2 separate regions of the Homo sapiens genome follow, and region 2 is linked to region 1. The links are contacts of gene promoters, found by promoter capture Hi-C in blood cells and fetal thymus (Javierre and others, 2016). All regions are on one chromosome and are shown on one strand. Each heading gives the region's core, a stretch centred on a gene start or on the middle of the fragment in contact. The rest is flanking DNA. Distances are from core to core; before and after follow the strand shown.

The links. Contacts are between HindIII fragments. The CHiCAGO score rates a contact against its expected background, and 5 or more counts as called.
Region 2: a contact is called between a fragment that was not itself captured here and the fragment with the promoter of EPB41L2 in region 1, in 3 of 17 cell types (M2 macrophages, endothelial precursors and M1 macrophages). The highest score is 7.1, in M2 macrophages.

Annotation. Positions count from the first base shown.
Region 1 is chr6:131,060,921-131,065,465 of GRCh38, reverse strand. It overlaps EPB41L2 (erythrocyte membrane protein band 4.1 like 2), which reads left to right and starts at 2,221. Exons shown (of 20, transcript NM_001431.4): 1 at 2,221-2,311. It overlaps LOC105378004 (a long non-coding RNA gene), which reads right to left and starts at 2,063. Exons shown (of 3, transcript XR_942993.3): 1 at 1,850-2,063. RefSeq lists silencers at 1,985-2,324, 2,665-2,764. The HindIII fragment of the contact is 3,039 bases long and covers 778-3,816 here.
Region 2 is chr6:130,929,267-130,933,811 of GRCh38, reverse strand. The region is part of intron 3 of EPB41L2 (erythrocyte membrane protein band 4.1 like 2); the gene reads left to right. Among named protein-coding and RNA genes, the nearest start is that of SMLR1, 100 kb to the right of the region's middle. RefSeq lists an enhancer at 2,155-2,324 and a silencer at 4,309-4,545. The HindIII fragment of the contact is 4,313 bases long and covers 410-4,545 here.

The DNA.
Region 1 (4,545 bases), core at 972-3,471:
GGACTAGTACCTATATTCTTCTCTTGTTCTCTGTGTCAGTCCTTTGCCTGTTACTACAGTGTGTCTAGCAGGAAGACCCAATCTTGTTCTACCTAGAGTGTTTTCCTGGGGATTAACATTCTGCCCTTGAACTGCAGCCTGGTAGTCCTGACAGTGCTTCCGCCTGCCTGAGTCTTTGGATGTCACCTATTCCAGGACTTTGTCCTTCTTTCTGTTCAAACCCCTCTTCTCTTCTTGTTAGACTTCCCTGGTTGTCTGGACTACCACCTGTTGTTTGCTAAATCTCTATGATGCCACTTCCATCAGTTTTCTTCACTTCCTTATAGCTTCTGGGACTTGATTTTTCTGCCCTCAGTTCCTGCTAGGTCCTCACTGAATCTGTTCCATTCCATTAAAATGCCAGGGCTATGTAAGGCTGTGTCCAAAAACAGAGTTCAATTCTTCTTTCACACAATAGCCTTTATACATTTGACAACCTTTTTATCACCTTTAATCATCTCTTTAGGCTAAATCTTGCTGGTTCCCACATTTTCAAGGTCACCCATTTATGGTTATAATTTAGCTTATCAATATTTTCTTTTGGAGGGAAAAATTTCTTCTTAAGAGGTGGCATATAGGAGTGATTCATGTACTTCAACGCAGAGTATAGTAAGCATATCCTTTCTTATGAGAAGGGCATTATATTTTATTAACTATGCCTATATTTATGTTATTTTGCACTAGCATTTTAAAGGGGGCTCCATCAGGGTGGTTCAATGTTTTATGGGCCCAAAAGCTTATATGACTTTAGGGACTCTTTAAAAAACACAAAATGAAATACAAAATTATAAAGTTAGTTTCAAGGCTTGTGAAAATGAGAGATCCCGAAGTTTGTTTCATTAGTTTCGTTGTAAATCTGCTGCATATTTCTTATTATGAGAAAATAATAGTATTTTCTCATTAAATTCCCAGGTCTCCTTTACCAGAATTGCTGTCTAATCAGATTTCTGCTCTGTTTTAGCACACCTTATAAAATTTAACTTGTATACTTAGCATATGGGATTGTGATTAAATTAATACATGTAAGGGACTTAGAACAATGCCTAGCACATAAAGCACACAATCAACCTTAACTATTATTATTTGTATTATTTACTAGAAGGACCTTGGCAAATAATTTATCTTCCCAAATCTTTTTGATGTAATGGAGCTCAAACGTGCCTGCCTTTTTCATAGGGTGATTGTGAGGATCAAATGATGATAAAATATGTGAATGTATTTTGTTAACTGGAAGGTATTGTTACTGAGGTTTCATTTGACATTGTTAATTTTGGAAAAGGTTCTGTTTAGGAAAGAAAGGGAGACGACTTTGGCTGTGGTGGAATCACTAAAGACCTCAATAAAAGTGGGAGGAGTAAAAGGGATAAGAGGTGCGTGTGAGGCAGATGCTGGAGGCAGTGAGCTGGACACGTTGTTTGACACCAGCTTGACGTGCAAACCTTCAAAAGATGAAATATATTGAATCTGAAACATATTGACCTCATTGTACAAAAGAAAAGAACCAGAAGGGTAGCGTGTGTGTGCTTGTGGCTTTCCACAATTTAGCCCCAAACTAGGTTTTTTCCAGACTCTTCTTCACCCGTGGTCATGCTCTGCAATCCAGATTCCCAGGCCTCTGCCCAGAGAAATCCTACTTACTCTGGGGAGGCCTTTCCTCCACGGGGTTTCCCCAACCCCTCCTGTCCCTCCCACAGGAAGAATAAATGGTTCCTTTTCAATGCCCTTCCTGTGAAAGCACTTTTTCCACTCTAGACTGAGGGAGACCCAGTTTTCCTTATTCTGCATCTCCAGGCTCTGCTCCAGTGTTTACCTCTAGGAAGGCGCTCAGTGAAGGTTTAGTCAGCAAATGCACTTTGAATAAATAACTTTTAAAAGTTGAGAGGACATTTAAGGCCGGGAATCGCAGTTGAGAACGCCTTGCCCAGGCGCATTAGCTGTCATCCGGGCTGCCCTGAGGGCGAAAGACGTCCTCCACCCCCGGGTCTCCGCGGCCGCGCTTGCCGAATCCCGCGGGAAAGGTCCCCCGCCCGCGCAGGGGCGGGGCCTGGGCGTCGGGGGCGGGACCGCCCGCGGGGGTTTCCGCGCCGGGGGCTCGTCCGGCGGGGTCGCGGGAGGGGCTTCCGCCGCGAGGGGGCGGGGCCGGCCCTCAGAGTCCTCTGACGGCCCCAGTCAGGGAATTTCAATTTGAAACCTAGCGGAGGGAGGAGGCAGGCGCGGCTGCCGGCGGCTGGGACTGAAGAGGGACGGGTCCCGCGGCGAGCGAGCTCCTGAGGTACGGCGTCGGGGTAAGGAGGCGTGCGGGGCTGCACGGGCCGGGCGACTGGTCAGTGTGGGGTTGCAGGGGCGGCTCAGATTTTTCCTCTGGCTGCAGCTGGGAAGCTGATTCCGGGCAGGAAGCGGTGGCGGGACGGTCCCACCGGGATGGGGGGCGGGGAGAGGGGGCCCGGCTTTGGGATTTTCTGCGGCTCCCTCTCTCCTTTCCTTCCCGGTCTCTGCCCGACCCGATTCTTGCCCGGGGGTCCGGGTCCTGTTGCTCCGGGCCGGATCCCGGCTTCGCTGCTCCCCGCGGTCCCCCTCTTCCCTCTTCCGGGGGACCGGGGCCGCGTCCCGGCGGAGCCAGGAAAGGCGGGGGCACGGGGAGGACGCCGTCCCCCCCGGGGTGCCGTGGGCTCAGGTCACGCGTCCGGGCCCCGTGGAGCAACAGCGGGAAAAATCCGGCTCCATCCCCCCCGCGGGGAGGGGGTCGGCCGCGGCGTCGCCCTTCAGGAGGAAGGTTTTAGGAGGGGAAGCGCGGGCCGGCCGCGCGCGTGGGGACTGCGGGAAGCCGGGCGAGGGCGGCGCGCCAGCCCCACGCGCGGTGCGGGTCGGGCCCGCTGTAGGCTCGCGTCCGCGCCCCCAGCTGCCGCCTGCGCCGTCTGGGAGCTGCGGAGAGGGACGCGTGTTTCGTGCTCCGATCCTTACAATTCCCACACCCAGGCCATCTCACCACAGATGGCTTGTTTTTTCTCCTCCTGCGCCTGGGGGCCGAGGGTTGGGAGCATTTTTAGGTGAGCAGCGGGGAAGGGCGAGGAGAACCTAAAGGAGCGCGACAGGGTTGAAGTCGGCGTCTGGGGACGCCATCCCCAGGCGCAGACGCTGCCCCCAGCAGCCTGAGGTCTGTGGTGGGACATCAGTTATGCTTCTCTAGATCGCTCACCTCCCCTGAGGTCAAGTTTTTTTTTTTATATATATGTATAAATAAAATGAGGTTTGGTGAGAAGAACTACTGCCTAGAGTCTATTATTTTGGGGAGGGGTCTGCGTATGGAGCCCTCCCTACGGACCCGGGTAGTCTTTCATTGAATTGCCCCATCAACACCACAGCTGCCCTTAATTTTAAGATCCCTGGGTGGATGGGAGAGAAGGTGGAATCTAGAGGAGCTGTGGCTATATTTTCGCTTTTCTGAATCACATCTTTCCCCAGTTTCTTGAACTTCTTGCCTCTGAAATGGCATGTGTGTGCCAGGCGTCTTGTTCCTCTTGTTACTGTTATTTAAGCTGTTTTAAAAAAACGACTTTCGCGGTTTTCCCCTCAGTTTTTCAGTCTTTATTTCCTCCCCCACCCTACGTTTTTATTGTTTTTTTCAACGGAATACATTATTTATCTGGTCTCTTTATAACGCTGTTGAGAATTAGCATTTCAGTTGGTGTTCTGTCAGATTTCACCTTGGACTTAGCAGTTGAGGGAAACTGAGTCAGTTTCTATGCTGCAGGGGCTAGGATTTAGAATTCTCAAGCTTTGAACAGGTTTCAGTGGGGGAACGAATAGTGCTTAATCCTATTCAGTTTCCCTTTGCAGGCTCATTGCTGTGAGAAATCACTGGGTGGCTGTTGCAGCCACTGATGGGGGCTGCATTGCAATGCAATCTTGAATTGTGATAAGGGCCAACTGGCTCCATCCGTTAGGCTGTGAGTTTGACACAACTTTTGAAGAGCTATGCTGTGTCACCTGTCAGAGCTCGAGTGGTCATTCTTTTAATTCAATTTAAGAACCACCATCAAACTTCAGATATCTATTCTTTGGAGGTTATTGGAGAACTGTACAAGTGGTAATGGCTTGGAACAATGGTGTGGATTTAGCGCTAATTTAATCCTATCCTGTCTTCCTCACTTCTTGGGCAGAATTCCCACTGAAGTCAGTAGTGGTCTTGTGTGCAGACAGACTGCCGAGAACAAGAGGCTGCTCATTTAGAGTAACGGGAAGGGACGGTTTCTTTCCTTTTAAAACATCCCTCTGTAAGAAAGACTTAGTCATAACAGTTCTTTAATCTTTAACCACTAGTCCAAGTAGTTGAGAGCACTTTTTGCAAAAACCTTCGAAAGAAAATTCGTGGATGAATTGAGCCACGTCCCTCGAACTCTTCATATATCTACGTTGCATGGTGATCCTTAAAAAAGATTAAAAGTGATTTTAAAAAATCAGTTAAAGCTATAATTTCAGTAAAATTTTTCCTAACTTTTGTAAAAA
Region 2 (4,545 bases), core at 1,317-3,816, 130 kb after region 1:
TCCAGAAATGTCATGTTTTGGCCTCAGTGTTGAATGCCACAAATAACAGCACAGGCATGGGGGACTTTGCTCAGCCTCTCAGATTCCAGCCTGCCTTCCTTGGGCTGCATCTGCAGTAGATTTCATTTACTCTTTTTCTTTTTAAATGAAAGTTCCCAAAAGCTAGCATTCTAATTTTTGAATAATGTATTTTGAGCCCATCCAAATTGTCTTGTTTTGTCTCTCTTTTGTGGGTATCTATAATATATAGGTTTTTAAAAAAACTAAAACTCTGATACCTGGAAAGTAGACCAAAGGGCTTTTTTTGTTTATTGTTTTAAAGTTTTCAACCCGTTAACTTTATATTGCTAGTGAGTGGTATAAGTAGGGTTAGGGAGAGGCAGACAGACGAAAAATAGATAGCTAAGCTTGTTGATATTTAATATAGAAAGTTATATTCAAAATATTTCTTTTTGAAGTGTATTTGGCAAGTTTTATTAACAGTTGCATGGTTTTTATTGTTTAATAAACTTGATATCATATTATTAGAATAGAGATTGACTCGGATTGTACTTTATGAAGATTCTACTGTAAGAACAGAAACAAAGCAAAGGCATGCTTCAGATAGCAAGAAGAAATGACAGCGAAAGTGATGTCTTAGTGGAGGAATGTGCAAGACTAGGAAACCCCCTGTCCTTTCTGCATAAAGATGAGGTATGGCCTACTCTTAAGAGGAAGGGGCAGATTGGCTTTTTCCCTCTAGTTCCCAAAATGTATTTGGAAATGCCCTAGTTTACTAAGGAAGAGTATAAGCATAATGTAGAATTGTGAAAATGAAGTGTTGGTCTGTGCTGGTCTTCTCCCAGAAACTAGTTGGCAGTGTGTGTTTGGTTTAGGTCCTTGAACATTATGGGTTGGTAGTCCATCAGCTAGGTAAGGAAGATTGTGTAAGAAACCAGCAGGCCTGAATTCTAGACTCAACTCTGCCAACTTTTTGACTGGCCTTATGGCATTGAGCCGTTCCATCAGCAGCTATCTTTTGGCCTACTAGTCAGCTAATTACTCAGTAGGAGGCATTGAAGTAAGATGTCCTCTTTCTTAAAGAACTCAGTATCTGAAAGTAATAAGTATCAAAAGGAGTAGAATAGAAGAATAAGTGCCATAGATGTGAATAATGCTCTTGAAGGAGAATGATGCAATATTGAGAGATTGGAACAGGCTTCATAGGGAAGGATATTTTGGAGATTTGTATACAAGTAGAGGTAGTTTTGACACTTGTAAATAAATCAGAGGAAAAAAATTAGAATATGTCTTGATAAGTCAGTAAGTGGTTCTCTTTATCTGGGGCAATACCCCAAAATTGCTGTGACAACTAATGAAGCAACTACGTGTACTGGTATCTTAGGTGAAAGTTATGAAGCAAAATTATGTGTATATTTTGCTTGGTTAACAAATGTATATTTGTAGTCCTTTTTATACAGTAGAATTCAAGTTGTTGATTTTTTTTTTTTTAAAAGCAATGTTAATGGAAGAAAATTACTTTCCTGGATAGAAGTGTGGAATATTAGTGTATATTAAGAGCATACATAATAATTTAATTATTTTAAAAGAAATTCAGAAATCAGACTGAAAAATTAGATAAACTTTCTATAACCTTATTTTTCTTATTTGTGAAATAAGAAAGTTTGATTAGATAATGGAAAACTTTAAAATCATATTTAAAATCAATTATTATTTTAGAGCAGCTCAAAAAGGTCTTGTAATTTCAGCTGGCTTTAATGAATCCATGTAATAAGCCAAACATTTTATTGATCACTTTAAACATACTTCATTTAATTATCTCATCACCATTATAAGGTGGGTACTTTTAAAGAGCGGAACTGAGGCATAGAGAAGTTACGTAACTTACTGTGGTTACAGAGCTGTTAAGAGTAGGGCTGGGGGTCAAGCCCAGGACACTGTGATTATACTGCAGTACTTTTCTTCCGTATTGTTAAGAATTGGTGATTCTCAAGAAAGATGGAACATACCAGAATCTCGGGGGAAAGGAAGAACTATTTTGAGGAACAATTTCAACTTACATGCCCCTGTACATTTTTATGTGCTACCATTATGCATTGTGCCTTGGTTCTTCACCCCCACCCCAAAGAGAATTATTATTTATGGAATGTGTTGTGAACAGTGTGAAGACAAAGTTGTGAGCCACTAGATGGTGTTGCTGTCTGAGCCGACCCAATCGAGTTTGATTGAACATTAGTGCTATAAATGTTATAACTTGGAACATTCATATGTAGCATTTAATATGTGTCACCTGATAATCTGATGCTTTTTAGAATATAAGAAGAAATGTACTACTTATTTTGTTTGCCTTTTTGAATAAGCCTCCAAAGCACATCTGTTTTAGGTTTCTTAGGAGTGACTTTTCTGTGTTTTTTTGTTACAATTTTCCTTCTCAGTCCTTCTTTTTATTCCCTAGCTTATGTTTCATTCCCTCTTGTCTTGATGACTTTATTATAGCTATTTAAAAAAATAATGCGTGTTAGAACCTTTTATATGTTGAGTATAAATAATAAATTAGTAGAATAAAATCATTGTAGATTAATAAATTTTATTAATTTTGCTAGGGATTCATTGAGCTTTCTTAATTTGAAGTTTTATAGCGTTGTTTCTTTTAATATTGCCTTTCCCTTATTCTCTCTCATCTCCATCTAGGACTCTGATGAGATATTTGTAGACCCCTCATTCTGTTCTCCATGTCTGTGAAGTTCTTTCATATTGTCCTTCCCTTTGTCTTTCTCAGCCACATTCTGGATAGTTTTTTTCAGATCTATCTTCCAGTTCACTGGTTTTCTCTTCAGCTTTGTCATATCCTGTCCATTTGGATTATAATTTAGTTACTATAGTTTTCATTTCTAGGTGTTTTATTTGATTATTTTCAAAACCTGCTTTTTCATATTCACTTTTTCCTTAGTCATATTTTAAAATATTTCTTATAAACACATAAAACATATATATTTTGTGTTTTGTTCTTGATAATTCTACTATGTGCAGTCTCTGAAGATCTGATTCTGATACTGTGTCTCTCAATAATGGTGTCTGGTTTCCTTGTCGTTTTGTGATTTTTAATGTATGTTTTTTGAGATTTTTGTCTATGAGAATTTCTTGCTTCTCCCAGGCAGCTGGGCATATCTAATCTTGGACCAGTTTAAACTGGATTATCTTTTGGCATTTTTGAATCAAACAGATGTGAATACCAGTGTCTACATCTGCGTTAGAGTCAGATGGTGGTACAGGTTGAGTATCTTTTATCTGAAATGCTTGGGACCAGAAATATTTTGTATTTCAAGTTTTTTCAGATTTTGTAATACTTGAGCACTCCAAATCAAGAAATTGGAAATCCGAAATGCTCCAATGAGCATTTTCTTTGAGCATAATGTTGGCGTTAAAAAACTTTTGGATTTTGGAGCATTTCATATTTTGGGTTTTTGGATTTGGGATGCTCAACCTGTAATTCTTTCCTACCTCATTTAGTGAGGTGTGGTCTTTAAAACAAAAATTCTGTTGTAGAATACATTAGTAAATGTTGTATTAAAAAATAGTGGGCTCTTTTGCTAAATAGTTTTGGGAAACATCAGGTTTCCCAAGTGAAAGGAATAATGGGAAACAGGGTTTTTGCATTGCAGGACTCCTCAGGGTGTCTGTTATACAAATAGGTGTTTTGGTGCTCAGTAATCATATGCAACAAGGAGAATTTTTCTTGTCTCACTCTGCTGCTCTTTTTGGGAATGAGTGGTGTATATAACTCATGGGATGAGTGGGACCAGTGGAAAATAACTTTGGCAAATATAGGTTGGCCTCGTGATACCTTTGGCTTCTGCTAATTGCCTTCTCGCTGTCTTTCCTACTGTTTATACCACTTTATGACTGTGCGTGTATGTGTGTGTGTGTGTGTGTGTGTGTGTGTGTGTGTGTGTGACTGTCTGTCTTGTATTTAATCTCCCTGAGGGAAGTCGTGATTCTATCTGCTATTCCTCATCCCCAGAGCAAAAGATTGTTGTTGTGCAGAGCTCTTGTATCAGGCTATCTTGTAGGCTACTGGTCACTTTTCTTTGAGCCAATTGGGCCAGGTACCTAATTATGTCCAAATTGGTAGATACATAATGCTTTATTTTTGGCTTCCCATTCATTCTCTTTCTCTGCCAGTTGCATATAAATTTCCTGAGACCATGTTTGTCGTGCTCATCATTGATTCCCTGGTATCTTAACATAGGAACTGACACATATGGGTCAATAAAGATTGAGTGCTAGCTTGGCAAGTCCTCACAGTCATCTGAGAGTCGGACAGGGTAACCAGCAGTCATATCGCATGGCTTGTTTATTCTGGATGGCTTCCTTTTTTCATTTTACTGTATCCTCCAGTATCTTTTGAACAGAAATTCACTCAGTCTCTATAAACATCCGAAGTAAAAAGTAAGCTCTATAAACATCCAAAGTAAAAAGTAAGTTATTTTGAATATCTGTTTTCTCTACCTCAAAAAATCATTTCCTCCTCTAAGATTCCCTTCA